Linked DNA regions of Homo sapiens: all the other regions are linked to region 5. Evidence: promoter capture Hi-C in human tissues and cell types (Jung and others, 2019). All regions are on one chromosome and are shown on one strand. Each heading gives the region's core, a stretch centred on a gene start or on the middle of the fragment in contact. The rest is flanking DNA. Distances are from core to core; before and after follow the strand shown.

Region 1 (3,245 bases), core at 228-2,727, 480 kb after region 5:
TATTTTTTGTGGAGATGACGTTTCACTATATTGCTCAGGTTGGTCTCCAATACCTGGGCTCAAGCAACCCTCCTGCCTCATCCTCCCAAGGTGCTGGGATTACAGGCATGAGCCACTGCGCCAGCTTAAGTTCTTTCTCAGGAGGCTCTTGGGCCACAAGTAAATTGGGGATGTGGCTTGACATCTATTTTAAGAGTTCCTGAGCTACTGTGATGATAAGTCCCCCAAACATTTGATGAGAGTTGGGAAGCCAGTATCCCCTGAGCACCAGAGGATCCCTGAGGAGGAGTGACATCTCTAGCTCAGCCAGGATACCGTGTTATGTTATTAACATTTATAGCTAACATCGAATAGCAGTTTCCATTACAACATGATTTTCACATAAGTTATTTAACTCTGAGGCAGGAATCAGTATCTCATTTTCATTTTTCTAATGAGGAAACAAGATTAGAAACATTGTGTTCACATAGATGGAAAAGGACAGGTCTGTCTTCATGTGTCACTCATACCAAGCTATCTTCTTACCAGATGAAAAAGGGTCATATTTTATGGTTCAGCAGAGTTTATATCAGTTGTCATAATGGAGGAATTTAGTGTTAGCCGTGTTTGCAGTGAAAGTAATAGGATTGAAAACTTGAATAATTTCATTTAAATTTAGATCTCCTTGTTACTCTGTAGGTTTGTGTGAACTGTAGACAATTTTGTATTAATAAAAAATAATGCGTATATACATACACACCTATCTACATTTATCTTGTCCTTTTTTTCAGAACCACAATGGACACTGCCAGCCATAGCCTTGTTCTTCTCCAGCAGCTGAACATGCAGCGAGAATTTGGTTTTCTGTGTGATTGCACAGTTGCAATTGGAGATGTTTACTTCAAAGCCCACAGAGCAGTGCTTGCTGCTTTTTCTAACTATTTCAAGATGATATTTATTCACCAAACAAGGTAAGGATGTGTTTTTGTAAATAAGAATTTTTAATATTGTGATTTATATAAGCTTTATTATAGTATCATTTTGGAAATTCTTTGTTACGGAGTCACACTAAGAAGTAAAATTATAATTTTTTTTTTTTTTTTTTTTTTTTTTTTTTTTTTTTGGCGACAGAGTCTTGCTCTGTCACCCAGGCTGGAGTGCAATGGTTCAGTGTCGGCTCACTGCAACCTCTGCCTCCCAGGTACAAGCGATTCTCCTGCCTCAGCCTCCCGAGTACCTGGGATTACAGGCGCCTGCCACCACGCCCGGTTAATTTTTGTATTTTTAGTAGAGGCAGGGTTTCACCATGTTGGCCAGGCTGATCTCAAACTCCTGACCTCAGGTGATCCGCCTGCCTCAGCCTCCCAAAGTGCTGGGATTACAGGCATGAGCCACCATGCCTGGCCAAATTATAATAATTTTTTATACATTAGTAATTAAACTCAGTGTGTAGGATCCATAATGGAAAATAAGAATGAAAATAAGAATAGCTAAAATTGGCTGGGCGCCATGGCTCACGCCTGTAATCCCAGCACTTTGGGAGGCCAAGGTGGGCGGATCACAAGGTCAGGAGTTCGAGACCAGCCTGGCCAATATGGTGAAACCCCGTCTCTACTAAAAATACAAAAATTAGCCAGGCATGGTGGTGGGCGCCTGTAGTCCCAGCTACTCGGGAGGCTGAGGGAGGAGAATTGCGTGTACCTATGAGGTGAAGGTTGCAGTGAGCCGAGATCGCGCCACTGCATTCCAGCCTGGGTGACAGAGCGAGACTCTGTCTCAAAAAAAAAAAAAGAAAAAGGAAAGAATAGCTAAAATTTATTGAAGGCTTATCCCATACCCAAGCACTAAGTATTTGCCCTATAATGTAAATTCTACTGCTGTCCCTATTTCAGGAAAAAGAAAACTGAGACTGAGTTAAGTAACATGCCCATGCAGGATTATACAGCTAATAAGTTAGATGCAGATTTGTCTGAAGCTATGTCTATGCTTTTAGTCACTAAGCTGTTAATTTTTGTTTCATATAACACTTTTGTTTTTTTTATTTTTTATTTTTATTTTTTTTGAGACGGAGTCTAGCTCTGTCACCCAGGCTGGAGTGCAGTGGTGCCCAGGCTGAAGTGCAGTGGCATGATCTCAGCTCACTGCAACCTCCGCCTCCCAGGTTCAAGCAATTCTCTTGCTTCAGTCTCCCTAGTAGCTAGGACCACAGGTGTGCGCCACCACACCCGGCTAATTTTTTGTAATTTTAGTAGAGACAGGGTTTCACCATGTTGGTTAGGCTCCTCTTGAACTCCTGACCTCAGATGATCCACCTGCCTCGGCCTCCCAAAGTGCTGGAATTACAGGCGTGAGCCACCGCACCCTGCTGATTTCAATAGGTTCTTTCAGAAGTTTTAAGATATCTTTATTGTGGCTATAAACATATAAAATTTGCCATTTTAACCATTTTTAATTATACAATGCAGTGGTGATAATCACATTCGCAATGTTGTACAACCATTACCACTGTCTATTTCCAAAACTTTTTTATCACCCCAAACAGAAACTTTGTACCCATTAAGCAATAACTCCCCATCTCACCCTCTCAACCCCCAGAAACCGCTAATTTACTTTCTATCTCTATGAATTTGCCTATTCTAGATATTTTATATAATACTTGTCCTTTTGTGTCTGGCTTATTTTACTTAGCATGATATTTTCTGGGTTCTCCATGTTGTAGCATGTATCAGAACTTCCTTCTTTTTATGGTTGAATAATATTCCATTGTGTGTGTAAGCCATCTTGTGTTTATCCACTCATCTTTTGGTGAACACTCAGCTTCTTTCTACCTTTTGGCTACTGTAAGTAATGTTGCAGTGAACATTGGCATACAGGTATCTGTTTGAGTCCCTGTTTTTAGTTCTTTTGATCGTTTACTTGATAGACTGTTAAATTCCTTAAGAGCAGGTACCTATTTTATTCATCAGTTTTCTACCGCTGGCATCTAGTATAGTGCATATCACTTAGGAGTCACTTGATTAATGTTGAACTATTCAGAATGTATGTCTGTGTTTCCTAACTTTAGGCAGTAGATTGAATACATGAAGACTTTTTGCTAGGCCATAAAGTTGGTATAAAATGAAAGTTTAAGCCTTTGTTGCCATGTTTTATTAAGGCAGATTGCTAGGTTCGAACTTCTTAGGAAGAAATTGCTTTAGTCTCAGACTATACTGTTAACTGAAAGGCCAGCTAGGTTGTGTTTCATTTCTTGTGGGTCTGTTTTTGTT
Region 2 (2,810 bases), core at 311-2,810, 430 kb after region 5:
AGCCGCCTCTGGGAACTCCCAGACCCAATCCGCTCCCGGGACCGCCCTCACAAACTCTTCCAGCTCCACCACAGGCTTGCCTAGGTCGGAGTGACTGGCCCGTGACCCAACAGATTTCAAGTTGGACGAGGGGCGGGACTCCGGCCCCCGCCAGGAGACAGAGGGGCGGCCGTTATGTAAATGAGGTTCCTCCCTGACTCTCGGCCGCCAGGCCGTGGTGCCTCGCGCGCCTCCTGCTGCTGGCTGGCGTTAGGCGCGCGCTCCCAGAGCCAGGTGTACGCGCTTTTTCGCGGTCTTTGCCCTAGCCGACGTGCATCGGATTGGCAGGGCACGCGGCCAATGAGCAGTGCGGACTGAGGCGCGGCACGGGGAGGAGGCGTGGAAGGGGATCCCGGTGAGGAGAGCCACTGGGAGAGTTCGCTCAATTCCTGAGGTTTTAAATGCAGTTCACTGCTAGGGTGCCGACTCACTGAGCACGCAGGGGCGGAGGAATTCATTCTGAGTTGGTTGCACCGAAGAAATAAAGCTCGAGCAGCTTGTTTTCCCCGGCGCCGTCCAAGGGGAGGGAATAGGGAATTGGGGTGGCTGGGGTGGGGGGTGAGGGCGGATCCCTTGGACGGGGATTAAAGAAAAGAAAAAGTCTGAACCGGCGGTCGGCCTCCTGGGATTTTATGGTGGGTGCTTCACTGCGTCTCAGTGGTTGTGAGCGCTCGATTAAAACTGCCTGGCTGGGGCCGGGCGCAGTGGCTAACGCCTGTAATCCCAGCACTTGGGAGGCCGAGGCGGCCGGATCACGACGTTAAGACATCGAGACCATCCTGGCCAACATGGTGAAAGCCCGTCTCTACTAAAGATACAAAAATTAGCTGGGCGTGGTGGCGCGTGCCTGTAGTCTCAGCTACTCGGGAGGCTGAGGCAGGAGAATCGCTTGAACCCGGGAGGTGGAGGTTGCAGTGAGCCGAGATCACGCCACTACACTCCAGCCTGGGCGACTGAGCGAGACTCCGTCTCAAAAAAAACAAAAAAAAACCCCACTGCCTGGCGGGCGGAGAGAACCTGAGCCCAGGGCGAGGCCGACCGTTTTCCCGCGCCGCGTGAGGGCGGCTGGCGGGACGGCAGACAGGGGTGTGGCGGCGACTTGTCCTCCGAGGAGCCTGCATTTAAACCCTTCCTGCCTCACTCTTCCTTTTTCCTGTTTGTCCTGCCGCTTTAAACTCTGGTTTCGCCTTCCTGTTCATTCCATTGCTTATTTTAGGTCGCAAGTGCTTTATCCACTGCTTTGAGTTTTTGACTGGAAAACCCATAATATAATCAGTCAAAACCCACACGTTGAAACACCATAAAGTCACCCAGTCTCGGTCACCCTGGCACACACGGGGTTGTGATCGTGACCTAGTCATGTTTCTGACTCCGCTCAATGGAATGGAATGATTTTCTTTGGCTGTGCTGAGGTTAATATTGGAGGCATAAACCCTCCGAGAAGGTAGATGAAAAGGAGCGCGATTCACTTCCTCCTGTTTAACAGGAATGTGAGGACAGGTCTGGAAAATACCCTGGCACCAGGTAATAATCTTTAGAAGCAGGCTCCCATATAAATGGGCTCCTGGACGGGTGTGGAGGCTCATGCCTGTAGTTTCAGCACTTTGAAAGGCCGCGGTAGGTGGATCACTTGCTGTCAGAAGTTCGAGGCCAGCCTGGCCAACATGGTGAAACCCCGTCTCTACTAAAAATACAAAAATTAGCCGGGCGTGGTGGCGCGCGCCTGTAGTCCCAGCTACTCGAGAGGCAGAGGTTGCAGTCAGTCGAGATTGCGACACTGCACTCCAGCCTGGGCGACAGAACGAGACTCCGTCTCAAAAAAATAAAATAAATGGTCTCCAGGAGGAAGCAAAGACAGCGATCACTTTACATAATATGTGTGGGGAGGCTGGGGAAGTCCTTCCATCAAGCTTGAACAGGTACCTACTACGTGGCAGTAAAAAGCCAAATGAAATGGCCTGGTCTTCAGAGGTGGAGAGTCTAATAAACAGGTAAACATAATTTGGGAGAAGCGCTGAAAGCAAAGCGCCATGGGAACACAGAGGGGCACACCCAGGCTGATGGAAAAGTGCGTTGCTGAGAGCTACCTGGAAGAGGTGGCATGCCTAATCCGGGAGCTGAAGTTCGCCAGCAAAGAGTAGGAAAGCCATTCTTTACATAGGTTGTGTATGGGCGAAGATGAGAGCAATGTTTGCTGGACTAGGATTTCTGTACAGAAGATTAGTGTCACTAGAAGGGAGGGATACAGGCAAGCAATAGGCTCTTCAGGTGGATAGGATACATCTCAGAGCTTTTTGAGCCATGGTCTTTTTCCTGAGGCTTTGGGCTGGGAGCACCGTCCTTTAAAGCAGGCTAGTGATGTGCAGCCATGTAAAAGCTGTATGAAATGGCGCTGGAGAAAAGCTTTTGTCAACCCAGAAGTTATCTGTGACCAAAAAGTAATGTTGAGAGAATTCTATAAAGTCAATGAACATTTAAGATTATTTTATCTAGTGGTGTATATCATTTCCAGTTTTTAAGAACATAATTGGTTATTAATCGGTTAATGTCATCAGTTAGTACTAATTTTAACCATAATTCCTATCCTCTTTTCCATGAATTTGAAAAAATTTTGAAAAAGGGGACGTTTTAAAGAAAATATTAGAAAGGCTGGACGCGGTGGCTCATGCCTGTAATCCCAGCACTTTGGGAGGCCGAGGCGCGTGGATCACGAGGTCAGAAGTTCAAGACCAGCCTGGCCAAGATGGTGAAACCCTGTCTCTACTAAAAAT
Region 3 (2,933 bases), core at 106-2,605, 260 kb before region 5:
CTCCACCTCCTAGGTTCAAGCGATTCTCCTGCCTCAGCCTCCTGAGTAGCTGAGATTACAGGCATGTGCCACCATGCCGGACTAATTTTTGTATTTTTAGTAGAGATGGGGTTTCACCATGTTGGCCAAGGCTAGTCTCGAACTCCTGACCTCAGGTGACCCACCCGCCTCGGCCTCCCAAAGTGCTGGGATTACAGGCATGAGCCACCATGCCCGGCCCAAAAAAAAATTTTAAAGAAACTTTTTAGGCCCGGTGTGGTGGCTCATGCCTGTAACTCCAGCACTTTAGGAGGCTGAGGCAGGAGGATCACGAGGTCAGGAGATTGAGACTATCCTGGCTAACACGGTGAAACCCCGTCTCTACTAAAAATACAAAAAATTAGCCGGGCATGGTGGTGGGCGCCCGTAGTCCCAGCTGCTAGGGAGGCTGAGACAGGAGAATGGCATGAACCCGGGAGGCGGAGCTTGCAGTGAGCAGAGATCACGCCACTGCACTCCAGCCTGGGTGACAGAGCAAGACTCCGCCTAAAAAAAAAAAACTTTTTAGTGGATGCTGAACATTATAAGGGTTATGGTGTTGAGAGACTGTCCTTTTTATTTTAGTGAGGTAGTTTAAGTTTCTTAATGATCATCATGATCCTTTTGGGGCTTGTTTTCAAGCTTTGTGAGAGCAGGCCTAGAGAAACCTTCTCTCTAGAGCTAGTTAAGTCTTACTCCTAAGGCCTAGGTTTTCTGGGGTCTCTACTAAATGTCCCAGGTGTTCAGTGAGACCCCACTGAACTATTTATTTTAGCTGGCTACAATAGTTTATTATATTTAATAATAAATAGTTTATTATTATAAATAAATAATTTATTCTAGCTGGCTAGCTGGCTAGAGCTCAAAAAACTTCCAACTACGTATAGGCTTCTGGAAGCGCTCAGTTTATAGCTCACCAGTATTTGTTATTTCCCATTGTTGCTATTTATCCAGACTCATGGAGCCTTACCATGGGCATGTGTAGCCTAGTATTCAACCAAATACTTTAGACAAGTACTTTTGTCAAGTGTCTAGAGGTCTTTGTGCAGTTCTCTCCTCCCTGGTAATCTGCCTGGCAAATTCCAACCACCTTGGGTCTCTGTCTCCTCAACTCAGCAAGACTTCTGTGTTCTGCTTGGCTTCCCGTCTCCAGGTAGTAGTCTGGAATGTGCTTCTAGGCAAAAAGCTGCGGCAATGTAGGGATCGCCTCATTTGTTTCACTTCTCTCAGGAAATATCTGAGATGTGTGAACACAGTCGTTTCATGTACTTTGTCTAGTTTTCTAGATGTTTACCATGGGACGGCTGGTTCAGTATCTGCCTGTTTGCTTTCTGATCACATGAATTCACATGCAGTCTTTCTCTACTCCTGGGCAGCTTCACCTGAACTTCCTCCTTCTTTTCATGCACATAAGTGAAATAAGTGCTTAAAACCAAAGGTCCTGGATTTTAGACACTACTGGAGCCCGCTGGACTAGGAGCCTTGCTTTATCTTAGCCTCATAAAACTGACCCTCTGAGGATTTGAGAAAGTTAATCCTAATCCCCAATGCTAAAGGACACATTATCTCCTAGATGCAGCCAAACAATCACAGGGCACCATTGTATTCTTTTAAATCAAACACCCTGTTTCTTGCAGATATAAATTAGCATTATTTTAAAAGGTTGAAGAAGATACACCAAAATATTAACAGTGATTATCTCTGTGGAATGAACTTTTGGGTTTCTTTTTGCTCTTCTTGGAGTTTTCAATTTTTTTTTTGGCTTTTATCATTATTATAATTTTTTTATTTTTTATTTTTTGAGAAGGAGTCTCGCTGTGTCACCCAGGCTGGAGTGCAGTGGCGCAATCTCAGCTCACTGCAACCCCCACCTCCCAGGTTCAAGCAATTCTCCTGCCTCAGCCTCTCCAGTAGCTGGAATTACAGGCGCCTGCCACCACGCCCGGCTAATTTTTGTATTTTTGGTAGAGACAGGGTTTATACATGTTTGCCAGGCTGGTCTTGAACTCCTGACCTCAAGTGATCCGCCCACCTCCACCTTCCAAAGTGCTAGGATTACAGGCTTTTATCATTATTTCTAATTGACACATAATAATTGTACATATTTATGGGAAACTGTGATATTTTGATACATGTATACAGTGTATGAGTTTCAATTTTTAAAATAAACATGCAATACCTTAAAAATTTTTTAATGTTTTAAATGTACTTATTTTTCTGACTCTGTTGCTTGAATCAGAAGTATGCTATTTTTATAATAAGAAAAAGAATTATGCCCTATAGTTGTGTACTCCTCCCACTCAATGACATTTCATTGTGCCTTAGTACAAATAATAGAGGCCAGGGGTGTAACTGATGGTTGATACGGAGCTCACCTGGATGACAGCCAAGTTCTGCCCCCACTCAACAGAAGAACAGGCCTATTGAATTCTGACTCCCTCCCTTCCCTCCTGTCCCCAAACAAAACGTTATTTGAAGAGTTTCCTTGTTCTCCAAGCAAATGAGAGCAGTCCAGAAAAACATTTCTCTCTCAGAAGCTTTTCCAGAAGTTTCCGATAAAGCTAAGACTCCCAGAAGAGCGTAAGTCAAGTAGCCAAGAGAAAGAGGAGTGACTGCCGGTTTCCGCGGGGCATCAGCGTGGGTTCCTGGGCATTGCTCCCCATCATGCAGTCTAACGGCAGAGGAGAGGACAGCCTTCCTGCTACCGGGAATCTTACAGCTGCCTGCCCCCCAACTCTACTTCCCCTTTAAAACAAAAAACAAAAACCCGCTCCTCAGAATCCAGACCAGAAACGATGGAGACATTAGCATACTCTGGCAAGCAGCCCGATGGATAATAGATAACAGGTTATCCAGGAAATAATTAGAAGTCTGCGCCCACACGGATCAGTTGCAGACACTGACCCCGTCATTCA
Region 4 (3,051 bases), core at 1-2,500, 450 kb after region 5:
GTTTCAAAACAACAACAACAACAACAACAACAACAACCTTATTAGATTATATAGAAATGGCACCAAACAAGTTTGATCAGTGCCTTTGTCTTTTCTTGAATTATCAAAGAAGCAATAATTCTATAGAGTTAGAATGTGTCTCATGTTGCTCAACATGCATTTCAGGGTATAAAGAAGCAGTGGGTTTATTTGAGAAGGTATTTTATTTATCCTTAGAGTGTAAAGTTTTCTTCCTTTTTTTTTTTTTGAGGCAGGGTCTCGCTCTGTTACCTAGGCTGGAGTGCAGTGGCATGATCATAGCTAACTGCAGCCTCAATCTCCCATGCTCAAGCAATCCTCCCGCCACAGCATCCAGAGTAGCTGGGACTGTAGGCACATGCCACCACATTCAGTTTTTTTTTGTTTTTTTTTTTTTAATATTTTAGTAAAGACAAGGTCTTGCTATGTTGTCCAGGCTGGTCTTGAACTCCTGAGTTCAAGCGATCCTCCTGCCTCGGGCTTCCAAAGTGCTGGGATTGTGGGTGTGAGCCACTGCACCTGGCCTCTTCTATTTTTTTTTTTTTTTAATTGTTAAAAGAAAAAAGTAAGGCTGAGCGCGGTGGCTCATGCCTGTAATCCCAGCACTTTGGAAGGGTGAGGCTGAGGTCAGGAGTTCGAGACCAGCCTGGCCAACACGGTGAAAACCTGTCTCTACTAAAAATAAAAAAAGTTAGCCAGTCGTGATAGCGGGCGCCTGTAATCCCAGCTACTCGGGAGGCTGAGGCGGGAGAATCGCTTGAACCCAGAAGGCGGAGGTTGCAGGGAGCAGAGATTGTGCCACTACACTCCAGCCTGGGTGACAAGAACGAGACTCCATCTCAAAAAAAAAAAAAAAAGTAGCAAAAAATTCAAACATAGAGGCATATAGAATAAAAACACACCTCAGATCACACACCTCTTTTCAGAGGTAACCCCTCCAAACACTCTGGATTATATACCTTCAGATTTGTTGAGATGCACATGTACATAGTTAGCATATTGAGTACCTATGAGATGCCAGGCACATAGTTTTGCTTTTGTTGTGTTTTTTAACCTAAATGGTATCATACTATATATATATATATATATATATATATATATACCTCTCTGCAACTAGTTTTCTTCATTTAACATTAGACAATATTAGTGGGCATTTAAGTATTTTTAGTGTAGGGAGCTGACTTTGGATAAGGAAGAAAGGAGAGGAAGTATTAAAAGCACTAGAAATCCTATCATATTATAAAGTTAAAATAAGATCAAATTTTAGCCTCAATTTTTAATCCGTATACATAAAGCTTCAGAATCTATCTTCTACTTAAAAATAAGTTCCTATGCAATTTGACTGAACTTAAAAAGAACATGTAACAAGCTGTTTAGAGAAATAAAATGTTCACTCTTCAAGCTCTGTAGTAGTAATTAAGGGTATCTACGTTTACGTACTTCTATTTGCTTTTTATCCATTCCTCAGCGATCACATATGGGTCATACGCCCCTTTTACTACCTATATGCCCATCCTGCCACCTCTAAGACATAAAGTTCCATAGCCAGAGATACAGGACTGGTGAAATGAAGATGGCTTATGATGAAACCTGCTGCCTTCTTAAAATTGCAACCACTGCACCTTTTCTGGAAGCCAGATCAAGTTTCAAGTAAGTACAATATTTCAAACCTCTGTAACTCAGGTATCTGTAAAAAGCTGTGAGGAATCATGTTCAGTATGTATCTAAATACAAAAAGCAATGTATGCACAAAGATAGTCATTAATGAGTTACTTCTCATTTGAATGCCTAGTAAAAAAAGGAGTCTTAAGGTAAATCTACGCCCCAGAATTCACTGTCATGTGGCAGTGAATTAAAAATTGTATTTCTGGGCCAGGCGCAGTGGCTCATGCCTGTAATCCCAGCACTTTGGGAGGCCAAGGTGGGCGGATTACCTGAGGTCAGGAGTTCAAGATCAGCCTGGCCAACATGGTGAAACCCCATCTCTACTAAAAAATATATAAAAATTAGCCGGGCGTGGTGGCACATGCCTGTAAACCCAGCTACTCGGGAGGCTGAGGCAAGAGAATTGCTTGCGCCTGGGAGAGGGAGGTTGCAGTGAGCCGAGATCATGCCACTGTACTCCAGCCTGGCTGAGGGAGGTTGCAGTGAGTCGAGATCATGCCACTGTACTCCAGCCTGGCTGACAGAGCAAGACTGTCTCAAAAAAAAAAAAAAAAAAAAAATATATATATATATATATATATATATTTCTAAATGGCAACTACAGAAGTGGGAAAAATGTTCAAGATGGAGAGCCAAATAAATAAACACAGGATACATAATTATGTTAGAATTATATAAAACAAATCCACGCCACAACCTTATTCAAAAGGTGGGGGGAAAAAAGATGAAAAAAATACACAAAAATGTTGACCCAAGCCCGTTTTAAGTAGGATGAAATTTCTATGTCTATAGTCATTTTTCTAGGATTCAGAGAGACATTTAATAAATAATAAACTATAGAGTAAGAGGCAGAGGGATAGGTATTATTTCTAAAAAACCAAACTTTCTATTAATAAGAGTAATTCAAGAATGAAACAAACTTGTTTGGAGAATGAGTACCCATATTAAAGCAGGAACAGAATGCTATTGAGGACAGTATAATAAGTGAAAAGAGCATGGGCCTAGGATCAGACAGACCTGGCTTCTTATCTAGCTTTGCCACTTTTGGGAACTTGCTTATCCTCATTGACCCTAAGTTTCCTGAACTGAAAAGGTAGGGATAATACCTCAAATACAGTATCATATATGAGGATTCACAGAGGCAATGTGTAAAATGCATCGTGCTTGGCATGTAATAATGAAAGTAATAGTGGATGTTGTAATGGTGGTGATGCTTATTTAAGCATCAGGTAAGTTTGAGTTGATAACCTTAAAATTTCCTTCCAAATAACAGTCCATTAGAAAGCCAGTAGTTAATCTATAAAAACTTTCAAGTATTAAATAGTCCAGGCTTGAAATAATGATATAAAGAGCACAGAAGTTCCAAAG
Region 5 (2,850 bases), core at 48-2,547:
ATGAAGTAAATGGGCTTACCACTTTCCTTGACCTACTATTGAAAAATACATTCTCCATCCAATATTCAGCCTGAAAACAGGTATGTACATATATACTTTTCATTGCTTTTTTTTTTTTTTTTTTGAGACAAGGTCTCCCTCTGTTGCGCAGGCTGGAGTGCAGTGTCATGATCTCGGCTCACTGCAGCCTTCCCCTAATGGGTTCAAGCAATCCTCCCACCTCAGCCTCTCAAGCCTGGGATTACAGGCGAGCCACCGTGCCCAGCTAATTTTTTTTTATTTTTAGTAGAGACTGGGTTTCACTACATTGGCCAGGCTGGTCTCCAGCTCCTGACCTCAAAGTGATCTGCCCGCCTCAGCCTCCCAAAGTACTGGGATTACAGGCATGAGCCAACGCGCCTAGCCTTTCATTGCTTTTTAAAGACCTAATAGGCTAGACTTTGCTCTCCCTCAATACTCGTTGGTAGGGATAGGCAATTTTCTCAACTCCGGAGAGCATTCATTTGCCTCTCTCCGGTGCTAACACATTCAGTGGTAGGAAACTGGATCTTGAACAAGGGCCATTCATTCTTTGGTGCCACTGGCTATACCACAGAGAAATTTAGGGGTCTGAAACAATACATTGGTCACCTGGGCACCTATCCTAAGCACCTTAGAGGGAAAACGGAGACTTGCCCGCACACCTCTAAAGGATTTTGCACTTGGAGATGTTCTTATGGCCATCTATCTTTTCACCCTGGTGGAGGCCGTGAATAGGCATTTTCCCCATTTAAAGAAAAAATGGGGACGGGGGAGGGCCGTGACACAGTCACACAGGTAAGGGGCAGCCAGATGGCAGGGAGGGGGAATTCCACCCACACTCTCGGGGACTCATGGAGACGGGTGTTCGAATCCAGATCCTGCTCAAGGCCTTCCTACCTCGGGTGAGCCCAGCTGAGGTACCAGCCACTGGGGAGCCCGGCCAGATCCTGCAGATGCAGGGTGCCACGGCGGGCGGAATTACCGGCGCCAGACTTGGGGTGGGATATGGGGAGAAGTGGTGAGCCCGGAAAGCGGAGCACGGTAGAAGTGGGCTGGGTGGGGGCTCACCTCAACTCCCCCATTCGGAGCGTCCGCGGAAAAACGAAAACGTTCCCCCGCCCCGGGCAGGAAGGGGTTGGGAGGGGGGGCTGGCGCCCCGCCCCAGCGTCGCCTGCTCGATGGGGTCCCGCTCTCCTGCGCGCGCTCCCCGCCCCCTCTCTCCGGGGCGGCGGCGGCGGCGCAGGGGAAGGGGCGGGCAGGGGCCGCCGCCGGTTTCTCCTCCCACCGCCTCGCGCCAGCCCAGCCGAGCCGAGCCGAGCCGAGCGGGCGCCGCGCCGGGCTCCCGCCGCAGCCGCGCTTCCCGGCACCCAGCGAGCGAGTGGGCAGGCGGGCGGGCGAGGCAGCCGCGGGGGCCGGGCCCGGCGTCCTCCTCGCCGCCCGCAGCGTCCCCGGGCGGGCGCGGGCCGCGATGGCAGCGGCGGAGCAGGGCTGAGCCCGCTGCCCGCCCGCAGTTCCCGGCCCCGCTGGCCCCAGTCATGGCGAAGCAGTACGATGTGCTGTTCCGGCTGCTGCTGATCGGGGACTCCGGGGTGGGCAAGACCTGCCTGCTGTGCCGCTTCACCGACAACGAGTTCCACTCCTCGCACATCTCCACCATCGGTAAGGGGCGGTGGCCCGGGGCGCCCCTCCCTCCCCGCCCGCGGCCCCTTTCCCCGCCGCCCCCGTCCCCAGCTGGGGAGGAATTGCCAGCCCCTCCGGCTGGAGGCGGTGGCGCCGGAGGCCGGAGTCCGGGATAAATCTCGGGGTGAGCATAGGTTTTGGCAGGTGAGGGTGTCCCTGCTGCCTGCCGTCCGGACCAGGGGTGGGGTCTCCCGCCTCTTGCCGGGAAGCCTTCCGTCCCATCAAACCGAGAAACCGGGGGTGAGGGGAGCTGGTGTAGGCCTGGGTACCCCGAGCTGGGGTAGCAAGAATCGTAGCCGCTGGAATAACATCCCCACACCCCCAGGGGGAGGGGAAGTAAAGCTTCTGCTACGGAAAAGGGGGTCAGGGTGGAGACCGGAGTCACTGAGGCGCCCTTGGTTCTGTGGTGACCCAAGGTGGAGCCGGCGGGGGGCGAGGGGGGGAAGAGAGGACGTACGGAGGGGCCACAGGGATCGAGTTTCCAGGGCAGAGTTGGGAAGGTAAGCCGCAAGGTGGGACACCTGGGGGAGGACACAGATAGGGTGAGGAGCCCCTGCGCCTGGGAAGAGGAGACATCTGTTCTGAGGGAGGCTAAAGAGGATGGAGGAGTGTCAGGAATACCTGCCCAGACCAAGGGGTCAGAAGGCAGGCAGGACCCGCCTGAGGGCATCTCTCATCTGGCAGTGCTGGAGCCTGTGGTTAGAGGGACAAGACCCGGTGGCATCCCAGACAGCACTATGATGGGGTCACTTATTCTAGGAATGGGTCCATGGCCTCCCCTCTGAGACAGTCAGTCTCCCGCTTCTAGGCTGTGAGGGGCCCCCTCCCTGAGAAGTCTGAGTAGAGGGAATTTCATCCTCAGCTGCTACCCGGGTCAGCCCTGGAGTAGCCTCTGCATTGCCCAGGCCCCTGGAAACACCTGCTGGCTGGCTGGTCATCCATTTGGAATGCTCTCCTAGAAGTCCCTGCTGCCATCAGGGATGGGCACCAGCTCTCAGCTTCCTCTTGAGGATTCATGTCCACACCATCCCCCCTCCCCCCAACACACATTCCTTGCTGAGAGAGAAGTAGGAGCAGATAGATACAGCCAGGAGGAACAGAACCTTCTGGTTAAGAAGCCAGCTTTATTGTCCAAGAGACCTGAGACCT

Evidence for each region. Contacts are between HindIII fragments. The study calls those that stand out against the background at their distance.
Region 1: a contact is called between a fragment that was not itself captured here and the fragment with the promoter of RAB15 in region 5, in 1 of the 25 tissues and cell types used here (dorsolateral prefrontal cortex).
Region 2: a contact is called between a fragment that was not itself captured here and the fragment with the promoter of RAB15 in region 5, in 1 of the 25 tissues and cell types used here (H1 embryonic stem cells).
Region 3: a fragment that was not itself captured here is called in contact with the fragment with the promoter of RAB15 in region 5 in 1 of the 25 tissues and cell types used here (spleen).
Region 4: a contact is called between a fragment that was not itself captured here and the fragment with the promoter of RAB15 in region 5, in 2 of the 25 tissues and cell types used here (dorsolateral prefrontal cortex and hippocampus).

The regions. Positions count from the first base shown.
Region 1 is chr14:64,488,066-64,491,310 of GRCh38, reverse strand. ZBTB25 (zinc finger and BTB domain containing 25) reads left to right here. Exons shown (of 3, transcript NM_006977.5): 2 at 771-950. The coding sequence starts at 778. Among named protein-coding and RNA genes, the nearest start is that of ZBTB25, 14 kb to the left of the region's middle. The HindIII fragment of the contact is 3,901 bases long and covers 1-3,245 here.
Region 2 is chr14:64,537,901-64,540,710 of GRCh38, reverse strand. It overlaps HSPA2-AS1 (HSPA2 and ZBTB1 antisense RNA 1), which reads left to right and starts at 343. Exons shown (of 4, transcript NR_110550.1): 1 at 343-394. It also overlaps a transcript of HSPA2 not described here. RefSeq lists a silencer at 106-195. The HindIII fragment of the contact is 3,230 bases long and covers 1-2,810 here.
Region 3 is chr14:65,230,096-65,233,028 of GRCh38, reverse strand. No RefSeq gene overlaps it. Among named protein-coding and RNA genes, the nearest start is that of LINC02324, 9.2 kb to the right of the region's middle. The HindIII fragment of the contact is 3,277 bases long and covers 1-2,933 here.
Region 4 is chr14:64,516,974-64,520,024 of GRCh38, reverse strand. The region is part of intron 1 of ZBTB1 (zinc finger and BTB domain containing 1); the gene reads right to left. It overlaps HSPA2-AS1 (HSPA2 and ZBTB1 antisense RNA 1), which reads left to right. Exons shown (of 4, transcript NR_110550.1): 3 at 1,487-1,668. Among named protein-coding and RNA genes, the nearest start is that of ZBTB1, 14 kb to the right of the region's middle. The HindIII fragment of the contact is 5,320 bases long and covers 1-3,051 here.
Region 5 is chr14:64,970,783-64,973,632 of GRCh38, reverse strand. RAB15 (RAB15, member RAS oncogene family) reads left to right here and starts at 1,297. Exons shown (of 7, transcript NM_001308154.2): 1 at 1,297-1,680. The coding sequence starts at 1,557. All of the region lies in intron 3 of CHURC1-FNTB (CHURC1-FNTB readthrough), which reads right to left. RefSeq lists a silencer at 1,135-1,504. The HindIII fragment of the contact is 7,421 bases long and covers 1-2,850 here.